2 separate regions of the Homo sapiens genome follow, and region 2 is linked to region 1. Evidence: promoter capture Hi-C in human tissues and cell types (Jung and others, 2019). All regions are on one chromosome and are shown on one strand. Each heading gives the region's core, a stretch centred on a gene start or on the middle of the fragment in contact. The rest is flanking DNA. Distances are from core to core; before and after follow the strand shown. Region 1 holds the start of NPAP1 (nuclear pore associated protein 1). Region 2 has its middle 50 kb from the start of NPAP1.

What was found. The method cuts DNA at HindIII sites, captures the fragments that hold promoters and counts their contacts. A contact is called where the count stands out against the background at its distance.
Region 2: a fragment that was not itself captured here is called in contact with the fragment with the promoter of NPAP1 in region 1 in 4 of the 25 tissues and cell types used here (dorsolateral prefrontal cortex, mesenchymal stem cells, pancreas and 1 more).

What each region holds. Positions count from the first base shown.
Region 1 is chr15:24,672,885-24,678,727 of GRCh38, forward strand. It overlaps NPAP1 (nuclear pore associated protein 1), which reads left to right and starts at 2,891. Exons shown (of 1, transcript NM_018958.3): 1 at 2,891-5,843. The coding sequence starts at 2,984. The HindIII fragment of the contact is 8,790 bases long and covers 1-5,843 here.
Region 2 is chr15:24,722,588-24,728,430 of GRCh38, forward strand. No RefSeq gene overlaps it. Among named protein-coding and RNA genes, the nearest start is that of NPAP1, 50 kb to the left of the region's middle. The HindIII fragment of the contact is 3,912 bases long and covers 1,517-5,428 here.

The DNA of each region.
Region 1 (5,843 bases), core at 1,641-4,140:
TGCAACAGAGGATGCAAACAGTTCACTGGAATAAAGTCTCTTTCCTCCACATTCCTTTTTCAGATAACTTTTCTTCACGAGAGAGGAGACTGAAATTATTTTAGGGAAAAAAGTTCATTTAATGAGGTTCATGAGTCAATAAAGTCCAAAGGATTCAGTGTGTCCTCACATTAACTCTGTATGACTTACAGTGGGTTGTTGGTGAAAGTGTTCAACTATAGGGTGCTAGGTATGGTTTATTGTCACTACCACAATTCTATACAAAGCTAGCCACCCAGAGATTCATTTGATATGACTGGAGATTGGTGCTTTAAAAAATTATTAAATTACAAGTAATCTCACCTGGCAACTATAAATTGTTGCTATTATCACAGTATTTATATAATTATTAAATTAAATTTTTGGAAAATATTTTGCCTTGACAAATTTCATCTCAACATGTTTGCGTCTGCCAAGTCAAAAGATCTCAGAATAATCAGTTGCCATCTAATGTTATTTTGCCTCACAAACACAAGGAAGATTTTATATTCAAAAAAAGCATCTATTCCCATTTGACAAGAAAAATAAAGAGGTGGATTTTTCTGGAATACCCTTGTCCAAATTTCCTTTTATTGTCCTGAAGCCCCAATATTCATTATTTGTTTAATGCATTTTTCCTGTTTGGGGGAAAATGCTGTAATTTATTGTTTTCAAATAAGCCTGACATTTGATTTTGTTTCAGAGTTCTTGTAGGAAATCTTTGTCCAAAACTTGTACCAGATTGTTCTTTTTGTTTAAACAAATAAAATCAAGAGATTATTTTTTATTAAACTCTCCTCAAATGATATCAAGAGATTACAGTTAAATGCCATAATTGTAAACAATTTCTCGGTTCCCTGAGAGGTTAGGAAGGACTTATAATATGTCTCCTCTTTTTAAACAGAATTTGGGTCTGAGCAAAACTTTGTGTCCTAGAAACATAAGCTTTGTTGGGTATGGAAGCCCACATTTACTCTGACATAGTATAAAATATATGAACAGGGGGATAAAAAGGATTTTGTAGTATGTTAACTAGGTTTGATGTTATTTTAAATCGATTTTTAAACTAAAAAATACATTAAAATATTTTTACTGATCTCTGATTCTTGGTTCTGAACCTTCCACATGTCCTATGTCTGGCACACAACATTAGCCCAAAGAGAGCAAAGCAGTCCAGTTAAATAAACCAAAGAAACAAGATTAAAACTAGATAAGGTCATGTGTAGGATTTTCCAAATCTTTCTTGTCATGCTGAAACTTCCAGCTCTTAAAACAGTAACACATATTTCCTTTGTCCTAAAAACCAATATTAAGTCTCCTTCCTTGGGCATAAGAATATGGATAGTTATACTTAGGTGACAGTAATGTGTGGTAAAGAGTGGGCCTTGCTGGCATGCGGACAATGACCAAATTGTATTGATCATATTTTAATCGAATACATTGCTCCACTACTGACTTGCAAATACATGATGAATTTGCTTTCTAACATATTCCAAGAAGGCCAGAGAACTGGCTTATCCATTTGGATTAATCCACTGGTGAATTTCTTTCGGGATAGGCCAAAATGGATCTGGACTATAATCTTTACATATTTAGATCCTTCAAACTAGACCAAAAAGGAAATCTGGGCTGCAAGGCTCAATTAGAAGAACAGTGTGGGATGCTGCTTTGCTGACTATTGGGGGTCGCTGCCCCATGTCTTCAGAGGAGACTGGAGCCCAGTGCCTGCCATGACCAACTTATGAGGTGAAGTAAGGGCTTCCCCCTAGGAACGCATGTGCTTAATACAGATGTGCTGTGTGCTAGGTACCCTAAGGACTACAGGAAATAATGAGAATACATGATGTGTCCATAACAAGGAGGCACACAGGCCACGGCACCAGCTCTGGAATCACACAGCCCAGGTTCGAAGCCTGGCTAGGCCACTGTCATATCAATGACCCAAGGAGCAAGCAGCCTAAGGCTTAAATGTTGTTGCTGTTGTTTGTTGTGGTTTTTTGTTTTTGTTTTTGTTTGAGACAAGAGTTTTGCTCTGTTCCCCCAGGCTGGAGTGCAGTGAGGTGATCTCAGCTCACTGCAACCTCCACCTCCCGCTTTCAAGCGATTCTCCTGCCTCAGCCTCCCTAGTAGCTGGGATTACAAGTGCGTGCCACCACGCTCAGTTAATTTTTGTATTTTTAGTAGAGATGGGGTTTCACCATGGTGGTCAGGCTGGTCTCGAACTCCTGACCTCAGGTGATCCACCCGCCTTGGCCTCCCAAAGTGCTGGGATTAAAGGCGTGAGCCACCGCGCCCAGCCTTAAATGTTGTTTAAAACAAATTTGTGAAAAGAAGTGAAGAGGCCCTGCCTGCCAGGAAGAGATGTGGTAGGGCGTAGCATCTAGTCAGGACAAGGCACCACGTCCCCTCCTCGGAAACCCTCACGGCCTGGCTGGTGACCCTGGCGCCACAGAGACGGCACACCTGGCTCCAGGCAGCACAGAGCACTGCCAAGGTCCTAGAGGAGGCTGGCAGGATATAGGTTGTCCTGTGCTTAACTTGAAGCAGATGTGCCCTCTGTGAACCGGGGAATGGGGACGGCCGACACAGGGCCACTGCGTGCAACAGCGCCGGGCCAGGGCTAAGGAACAGGCAGAGCCGGCGCCCAGGTGACAAGAGCTCTGGCGATGGGCCCGCAGGCCCCAGCAGTTCCCTCATAGAGGCCACGCGGTGCAACACCTGCCACCGGCAGCGGGGCTTCCGGGGGTCCTGGGGCAGCTGGGGCCGACGGGGCGTCGCCCTTTGCCCTCTGACCCCTGCCTTTTGCGCCCCCGCTGGCGCTCCCTGGTTCTGTGAGGAACCTCGCGGCGGCGTCGCAGGCGTAGAGCCAGTCAGTTTGTGCTTGGTCGCCAGAGGAGGCGGTGGCTGAGGAGAGTTGAGTCCACTGCTGACCCTGTTTTACGGTAGGAGGCACGGCTAGCTCTAAATGGGCAATTTACTTAGTAAATTTAGACCCGGGTGCCGCCGCCGGCCCCTGCCAGGGCCAGGGCGTGGCGCCCCCGCTCCCCTGTCCCGGGACGCCTCCCCGCCCGGTCGGGCTCACTCTGTACCCACCCCGCGCCCTTTCCGCGGCCTGTTCCGCCGGAACGCCCGTCGCAGGCCTTCAGCAGCCAGCATCTTCGTCGCCCCTAAGAGGCCGTGTCCTCTCCCTCGGGCTGCGGCCGCCCCTCTGGGGGTCCTGCCGGCTGTGGGTTGGGGGCTGGCCATCAGGAAGACACCCATGCTGCCTGCTCGGAACCCCCCGAGGTTTGGACACCCCAGTTCCGTAAGGATCCCTCCTCCCAGCCGCATGTTCACTCTCCTGCTGCCTTCACCACGTGAGCCGGCGGTCAAGGCCAGGAAGCCCATCCCAGCCACTCTCCTGGAGGAGACCGAGGTGTGGGCCCAAGAAGGGCCCAGAAGAGTGAAGAAGGATGAGGATCCGGTGCAGATCGAAGGGGAGGATGACGAGAAAAGGACCCCCCTTAGCAGCGGAGAAGCATCGTCCACATCCAGGTCCCAGGGCACCCAGGGAGACGTGGCCTCCTTCAGATGCAGCCCTGGGCCTCTGGAGGGAAATGTCTACCACAAGTTCTCAGAAAACAGCATGAGTGAGAAGGCCCAGGCGTCTCCAGCGAGCTCCTGCTTGGAAGGCCCTGCCATGCCCAGCACACACAGCCAGGCCGGATGTGCCCGGCATCTTGGAAAGCCTGATCCGGATGCAACAGCGCCCCCTGAGCCAGCCGTTGGCTGCTCCCTGCTGCAGCAGAAGTTGGCTGCGGAAGTGCTGAATGAAGAGCCACCGCCCAGCTCCCTAGGCTTGCCGATTCCGCTGATGTCCGGAAAGAGGATGCCTGATGAGAAGCCTTTCTGTATTCCTCCAAGGAGCGCTGCTCCTCCCAGAGCTGCCCGCAACAGGCCCTGCAAAAGGAAAATGTCGATTCCATTGCTGCTGCCGCTGCCCCCTTCACTGCCATTGCTGTGGGATCGAGGTGAGCTTCCCCCACCTGCTAAGCTCCCCTGCCTGTCTGTTGAGGGAGACCTACACACCTTGGAGAAGAGCCCTGAGTATAAAAGGAATAGCAGAATCTTGGAGGATAAAACAGAGACCATGACAAACAGCAGCATCACCCAGCCTGCCCCTTCTTTCTCCCAACCTGTGCAGACCACAGACTCCCTGCCCCTGACCACTTACACTTCCCAGGTCTCAGCTCCTTTGCCCATCCCTGACTTGGCTGACCTGGCTACTGGACCCCTCATCCTGCCTATCCCTCCACTTTCCACCACACCAAAAATGGATGAGAAAATAGCATTCACAATCCCTAACTCTCCTCTGGCTCTTCCTGCTGACCTTGTTCCCATTTTGGGTGATCAGTCTAATGAGAAAGGAGGCTCTTATAATTCAGTCGTAGGAGCAGCGCCTCTCACTTCTGACCCCCCAACACCTCCTAGCTCCACACCCTCCTTCAAGCCTCCCGTCACAAGGGAGTCCCCAATATCTATGTGTGTGGATTCCCCTCCTCCTCTTTCCTTCCTGACTCTTCTTCCAGTCCCTTCCACCGGGACCTCAGTTATCACCAGCAAGCCTATGAATTCCACGTCAGTCATTTCCACTGTCACAACAAACGCATCTGCCCACCTAACCTCACAGACTGCGGTAGACCCTGAAGTAGTTAATATGGATACTACTGCCCCATCTCAGGTTGTTATTTTCACATCTTCCCTAAGCTCCAGAGTGAGCTCTCTCCCAAATTCCCAAATACATTGCAGTGCAGAGCAGAGGCACCCGGGAAAGACATCAGTCTACACATCCCCACTTCCATTTATATTCCACAATACCACCCCAAGTTTTAACCAACTCTTTGGAAAAGAAGCCACCCCTCAGCCCAAATTTGAGGCTCCTGATGGGCAGCCGCAGAAAGCTTCTCTCCCCAGTGCCTGTGTTTTCCTGAGCCTTCCCATCATTCCTCCTCCAGACACCTCCACTTTAGTGAACAGTGCCTCTACAGCATCATCATCCAAACCTCCCATTGAAACCAATGCTATGCATACCACTCCTCCTTCCAAGGCTGTCATCTTGCAGTCTGCCTCTGTCTCCAAGAAGTACCTCCCATTTTACCTGGGGCTTCCTGGTTCTGGGAACACACAACCCAGCGGCAACACTGCCTCAGTCCAAGGCTCCACCAGTTTGCCTGCACAGTCAGTCAGGGCACCAGCTACAGCTTCCAACCATCCTTTAAATCCAGGAGCCACCCCTCAACCCAAATTTGGGGCCCCTGATGGGCCGCAGCAGAAAACCTCTCTCCCCAGTGCCCATGATTTCCTGAGCCTTCCTATCATGGTTCCTCCAGACACCTCCACTTTAGTGAGCAGTGCCTCTGCAGCATCGTTATCCAAGCCTGCCATTGACACCAGTGACATGAATACCACCCCTCCTTCCAAAACTGTCATCTTGCAGTCTACCTTTGTCTCCAGGAAGGAGGAGTACATCCGATTTTATATGGGGCTTCCTGGTTCTGGGAACACACTACACAGTGACAGCATTGCCTCAGCCCAAGTCTCCACCAGTTTTCCTGCACAGGCAGATAGGAGACCAACCACAACTTCCAGCCATCCTTTAAATACAGGATCCATCTCTCATTCCACACTTGGGGCCACTGATGGGCAGCAGAAGTCTGACAGTTCTTTTATTCTGGGGAATCCAGCAACCCCAGCACCAGTTATAGGCTTAACATCTCCTTCAGTCCAGCCACTGAGTGGCAGCATAATTCCACCAGGTTTTGCAGAGTTAACATCACCATATACTG
Region 2 (5,843 bases), core at 2,223-4,722, 50 kb after region 1:
AAGATTATAAATCATTCCACTATAAAGACACATGCACACATATGTTTATTGCAGCACTGTAATAGCAAAGACTTGGAACCAACCCAAATGCCCATCAGTGATAGACTGGATGAAGAAAATGTGGCACATATACACCATGGAATACTATACAGCCATATAAAAGGATGAGTTCATGTCCTTTTCAGGGACATGGATGAAGCTGGAAACCATCATTCGCAGCGAACTAACACAGGAACAGAAAACCAAACACCACATGTCCTCACTCATAAGTGAGAGTTGAACAATGAGAACACATGGACGCAGGGAAGGGAACATCACACACTGGGGCTTGTCAGGGGGTTGGGGGGTAGGGGATGGATAGCATTAGGAGAAATACCTAATGTAGATGACAGGTTGATGGGTGCAGCAAACCACCATGGCACGTGTATACCTATGTAACAAACCTGCACATTCTGCACATGTATCCCAGAAAATAAAGTATAATGAAAAAAAAAAGTACCATTGATTTCTTTATTGACCTTGTATACTGCAAAACATTACTGAACTTGTTTTCTGGTTCTAGTCTTATTTGAGTAGTTTCCTTAGGATTTTCTCCTACACAAGATCATAACATTTGCAAAAAAAAAGATTGTTTGAATTTCTTTCCAATATGGATAATTTCCATTTCTTTTTCTAGACTAATTTCCCTGAATATATCCTCCAGTACAATATTGGATAGGAGTGACAAGAGTAGAAATCTTCATCTTTGTTCTAATCTTGTGGAAAATATTGAGGGTTTCATGATAGCATATGTTGTTATATGAGTATTTTGTGGATGTCCATTTGAATTAAGAAATTTTATGTCTATCTCAAATTTGTTGAGGTTTTTTTTTTCCATGAATGGGTTTAAATTGTCAATTGTTACTTCCACATCCTTTCAGTTGATCACCTGGTTTTTGTTCTTTAGTCTATAATATAGCACATTACCTTAACTGTTTTTATGCTTGGAACCAAACTGTATTCTTGGGATAAATACACTTGGTTATAGTGAATGATCCTGTTTTTATGTTGCTGTGTTTGGTTTTCTAGTATTTTTGTTTAGGTTAATGCCACAATATTCATAAAGTTATTTGCCTGTGATTTTCTATTCTTGTAACATATGTGTCTAGTGGTAGTAAACTGGCCTCATAGAATGCATTTGTTCTCCTCTCTGTTTGTTTGTTACAAGAACAAGCTTAGCACAACTGATGTTAATGTTGGAGACAGCATGGCCAAGATGATTTCAAAGTTGATTCAGAAGACATTTATCTGAATGGGAAAAATTTTAGGAATACTTTTGTCAGTGTACTTTGCTTATATTTTCCATCTCCTATAACTGCAGAACTGACATAAGGCAAATATCCATTTATTGATTTCAATTCCTTTGGATACATACCTAGAAGTGTGACTGCTAGGTCCTATAGTAGTTCCATTTTTAGTTTTTGGAGGAAACTTCATACTGTTTTTCATAATAGCTGTACTAATTTGCATGCTGTTATAAGAATTTGCTTTCTTATAACAGTATAAGAAAGTTGCCTTTTGCACATTTGCAAAGTTGAAATAAATTTTTTCAGTAATAATAAGACAAAATTCTAAGTGATAAATATTTGTGTTATACTTTGTCAATGGTTTTATTCTTTCATTGTGACATATAAAGTAATGGTGCATCTTACAACTAATGCAAATGATATATCTTGCAATTTACTTAGACAACACTGTCAGTATTAACAAATATTGGCTTAATGGTTGGTATATAACTGCTATTAGTCTACATGCTTTATGTATTATTAGTTCATTCAAGCTTCACAGAGTCTCAAGTGGTAGGCATTATTACCACTCCTATGGTCCAGTTCCAATCTGAGGTAAAGTTCCGTAAGAAAGAAATAGAAGCTTGAGATTAACTCAGTCTATCTCCAGAGTCAGTGCTCACATCAACTATGTTAGCATATCTTTTCTCCTGTATGGTAATTACTCTCTAGGTCTAGTTTCAGAAATCTTACTCTACCTCATGGTCATTAAGTTACTTTTCTAAGTTAAACTCTAAAAACTGTAACAAATTACTTTTACATTTAGGTCAATGATCTACCTGGAATTGAATTTTTGTGAAATGTGAGATCAAAAGTCAGATTTTAATTTCACTCTATGGATATTTAATTTCCTAGAATATTTGTTCAAAATGTTATTTTCCCCCATTGGTCTTATGTATAATTCACTTGTTTGTATATGCACATGCCTTTATTCAGTTCTCTTTTCTCTTTTTCATTTACTTATTTCCCTTTGTGCAAATGCCACTGTCTTAGTTAATGAAAGACTTCACTTAACACAAGTATTTTCCATCCAGAGCCCTGTCTCTTCATCACTGTGCTGTTCTGTAATGAAGACAGAGAAGAGTGAAAACTGCATGTCTTGTACCTACACAAATATTCCCAGCTGTGCCTCCAATAAAGAGTAGGGTTTAGGATTTTAGAACATTGCTGTTGACACTTATGTCTCTAATGCCCTTGTAAATCTTAGGCAATCCTTCCAACTCCACTCACCCTATATTTTAGAACATTCTCAGTTAATTTTATTTGATGTCACCCTCACCCATCTTCATTTTCCTTTTCTGCTTTTCTGGAGCCCTAGGGAATTTCCTAAAGGCTCCCCAGTGACAGCCAGGCATGGCAAGAACCAAGAAAGGTACCCCTGAATCCTCCTGGACAAGTAGAGACAACACAGTGGCCAAGATCTTCCTTCTCCAGACAATGTCCGCCAAGGACAGGGCCACAGCCTGTGCAGCTAAGCCCAGATCCTCTAGGTAGGGTCTGCATGTCCAGCTGCTTCCTTCCCTCCCTTTGGGTTCAGTTGGGGAAGTCAGCCCTTTGGTATAAAGCAAAAGTTTGTTCCAAAACCATTCTGCTTACTGACCAAGGAAACATTACTGCTTCACACCTTGCCTTGTAATATTATATTAGTTCTTTTTATTATTATTATTATACTTTAAGCTTTAGGGTACATGTGCACAACGTGCAGGTTTGTTGCATATGTATACATGTGCCATGTTGGTGTGCTGCACCCATTAACTCGTCATTTAGCATTAGGTATATCTCCTAATGCTATCCCTCCCCCCTCCCCCCACCACACAACAGGCCCTGGTGTGTGATGTTCCCCTTCCTGTGTCCCTGCATGCTCATTGTTCAATTCCCACCTATGAGTGAGAACATGCGGTGTTGGTTTTTTGTCCTTTCGATAGTTTGCTGAGAATGATGGTTTCCAGCTTCATCCATGTCCCTACAAAGGACATGAACTCATCATTTGTTATGGCTGCATAGTATTCCATGGTGTATATGTGCCACATTTTCTTAATCCAGTCTATCATTGTTGGACATTTGGGTTGGTTCCAAGTCTTTGCTATTGTGAATAGTGCTGCAATAAACATACATGTGCATGTGTCTTTATAGCAGCATGATTTATAATCCTTTGGGTATATACCCAGTAATGGGATGGCTGGGTCAAATGGTATTTCTAGTTCTAGATCCCTGAGGAATCGCCACACCGACTTCCACAATGGTCGAACTAGTTTACAGTCCCACCAACAGTGTAAAAGTGTTCCTATTTCTCCACATCCTCTCCAGCACCTGTTGTTTCCTGACTTTTTAATGATTGCCATTCCAACTGGTGTGAGATGGTATCTCATTGTGGTTTTGATTTGCATTTCTCTGATGGCCAGTGATGATGAGCATTTTTTCATGTGTTTTTTGGCTGCATAAAAGTCTTCTTTTGAGAAGTGTCTGTTCATATCCTTCACCCACTTTTTGACGGGGTTGTTTGTTTTTTTCTTGTAAATTTGTTTGAGTTCATTGTAGATTCTGGATATTAGCCCTTTGTCAGATGAGTAGGTTGCAAAAATTTTCTCCCATTCTGTAGGTTGCCTGTTCACTCTGATGGTGGTTTCTTTTGCTGTGCAGAAGCTCTTTAGTTTAATTAGATCCCATTTGTCAATTTTGGCTTTTGTTGCCATTGCTTTTGCTATTTTAGACATGAAGTCCTTGCCCATGCCTAAAATTTGAAAATATTTTTAACATTTGTTTATTAATTTTTTTTGGCCATACAAACTTTATCTACAGTGTTTTATTTTTGTATTGTATATTAATGCCTTCTGTATTTAATAATGCTACCATAAATGTATTTAATAATGCTACCATACCAAAAGGCATATATTAATGCCTTTTGTATTTAATAATGCTACCATAAAATGTATTTAATAATGCTACCGTAATAACTTTTCAAAATCGCTTTTTAATCATTTTCATCTTTTCAAGCATCAGTCTTTCCTAAATTGAATGGAAATATCACTTGTTTTAGGGAAGACAGATGGTACATATTCTCTGTATTTGCCATAAATATCCTCTGAAATACCTCTGGTTGTGAAGAAGAGACTTGTCTAGCAGTCACAAGGCAAAATGTATCCACAGCCTGTTGCTTTAAAAGAGCTCTGAATGTTTTCATTGTATGGCCTAGCTTATTCTAATTTTGAGAGATTCACAAAGGCATTAACTTATATAGACAGAACACTGAGATGTAGACATCATCTAAATGCAGACACCAGTCACTTCTTTACTGTACAAATATGAACTTCATTGTACTGCTTGCAAGAAATGCAGACACCAGCCACTTCTTCACTGTGCAGATATGAACTTCATCATACTGCTTGCAGGAAAATGCAAGATGGCAGTGTCATATAAAGTTGCCTTTTTGTGGTCAAGAATAAGACAAAATTGTTGAAGGCTAAGTTCACCCAAATGGCTTCTTCTTGTGTCTGGATTTTTTCCATAGTTCTTTGATCCATGTGCCACATCAGTGATGATGGTACATAGCAAAGCTATCTCATGGCAGCTGGCATGAATACTCTTTCCCCTTCCTAGCACTGGACATGGAGAATGGCTTGATGAAACTCAGCCACCTTGTTCTCCAGACTCTCAGTTCCACCTTCTCAACTCGAGTGTCTTCCAAGGTCCTTGCCACACCCACAGCCTGGAAACTCAACCATAACCCAAGGCTACAGTAGGACTCACATCACTATTTCTCATCTCTCAGGGATAACTGTCCTTTTTTAAAAAAAAAAATGTTCAGGCATTTGCAAACCATGGATTCCTATACCTGTGAATTTTTTGTTTTCACATGGCATAAGGAATATCTAGTCCCTATTAGTTTCTTGATGACATTTTGGTTCATTTGTGCAATGAATCCACCATAAGTGTACTCCGAACTGTATGTTTCTACTAGGCAATATTAAGACGTGTAAAAAGAGATGTGAGTCAAACCCATAGAGACAGACAAGTTAACTGACCCACGTAACATTAAAAGGGAGGTGTAATAGCAACAACACAACAAAGGTTGCTGCCTGGGCATTAGAAGTAGAACACCACACCCAAATGGCTAAAACTAGTGGCCAGAGATAAGAACTTAGAGGCATCTCTGTCACCTAGCAGGCTGAGTTTCCACCTTCCTGCTGCTTTCTTTAAACATGCCATTCAGGCATTTGCCCGTGAACTTGAAGTAACATACCCATTATTTCCTAATATATACCCCAGCTGCCGCTCTCCTCGCTTTCTTTCTCTCTTTGTCTCTCTCTGACCGTAGGATGGAGGACTGCCCTCCTGACTCATTGTGCCCTTCCTGGCAGGATCTGTAAGTAAAAATCTTTGAACTTATTTGTTTTGGGGGCTACCCTAGACCAGATTTTCCCCAGGACACTAAGGAGAACACAGGTTGAGCTCCCAACATCAAAGCCATGGTCAGGCAGGAATAAACTGGACACAGGTCAGACAAGAGCCACAAGGGTG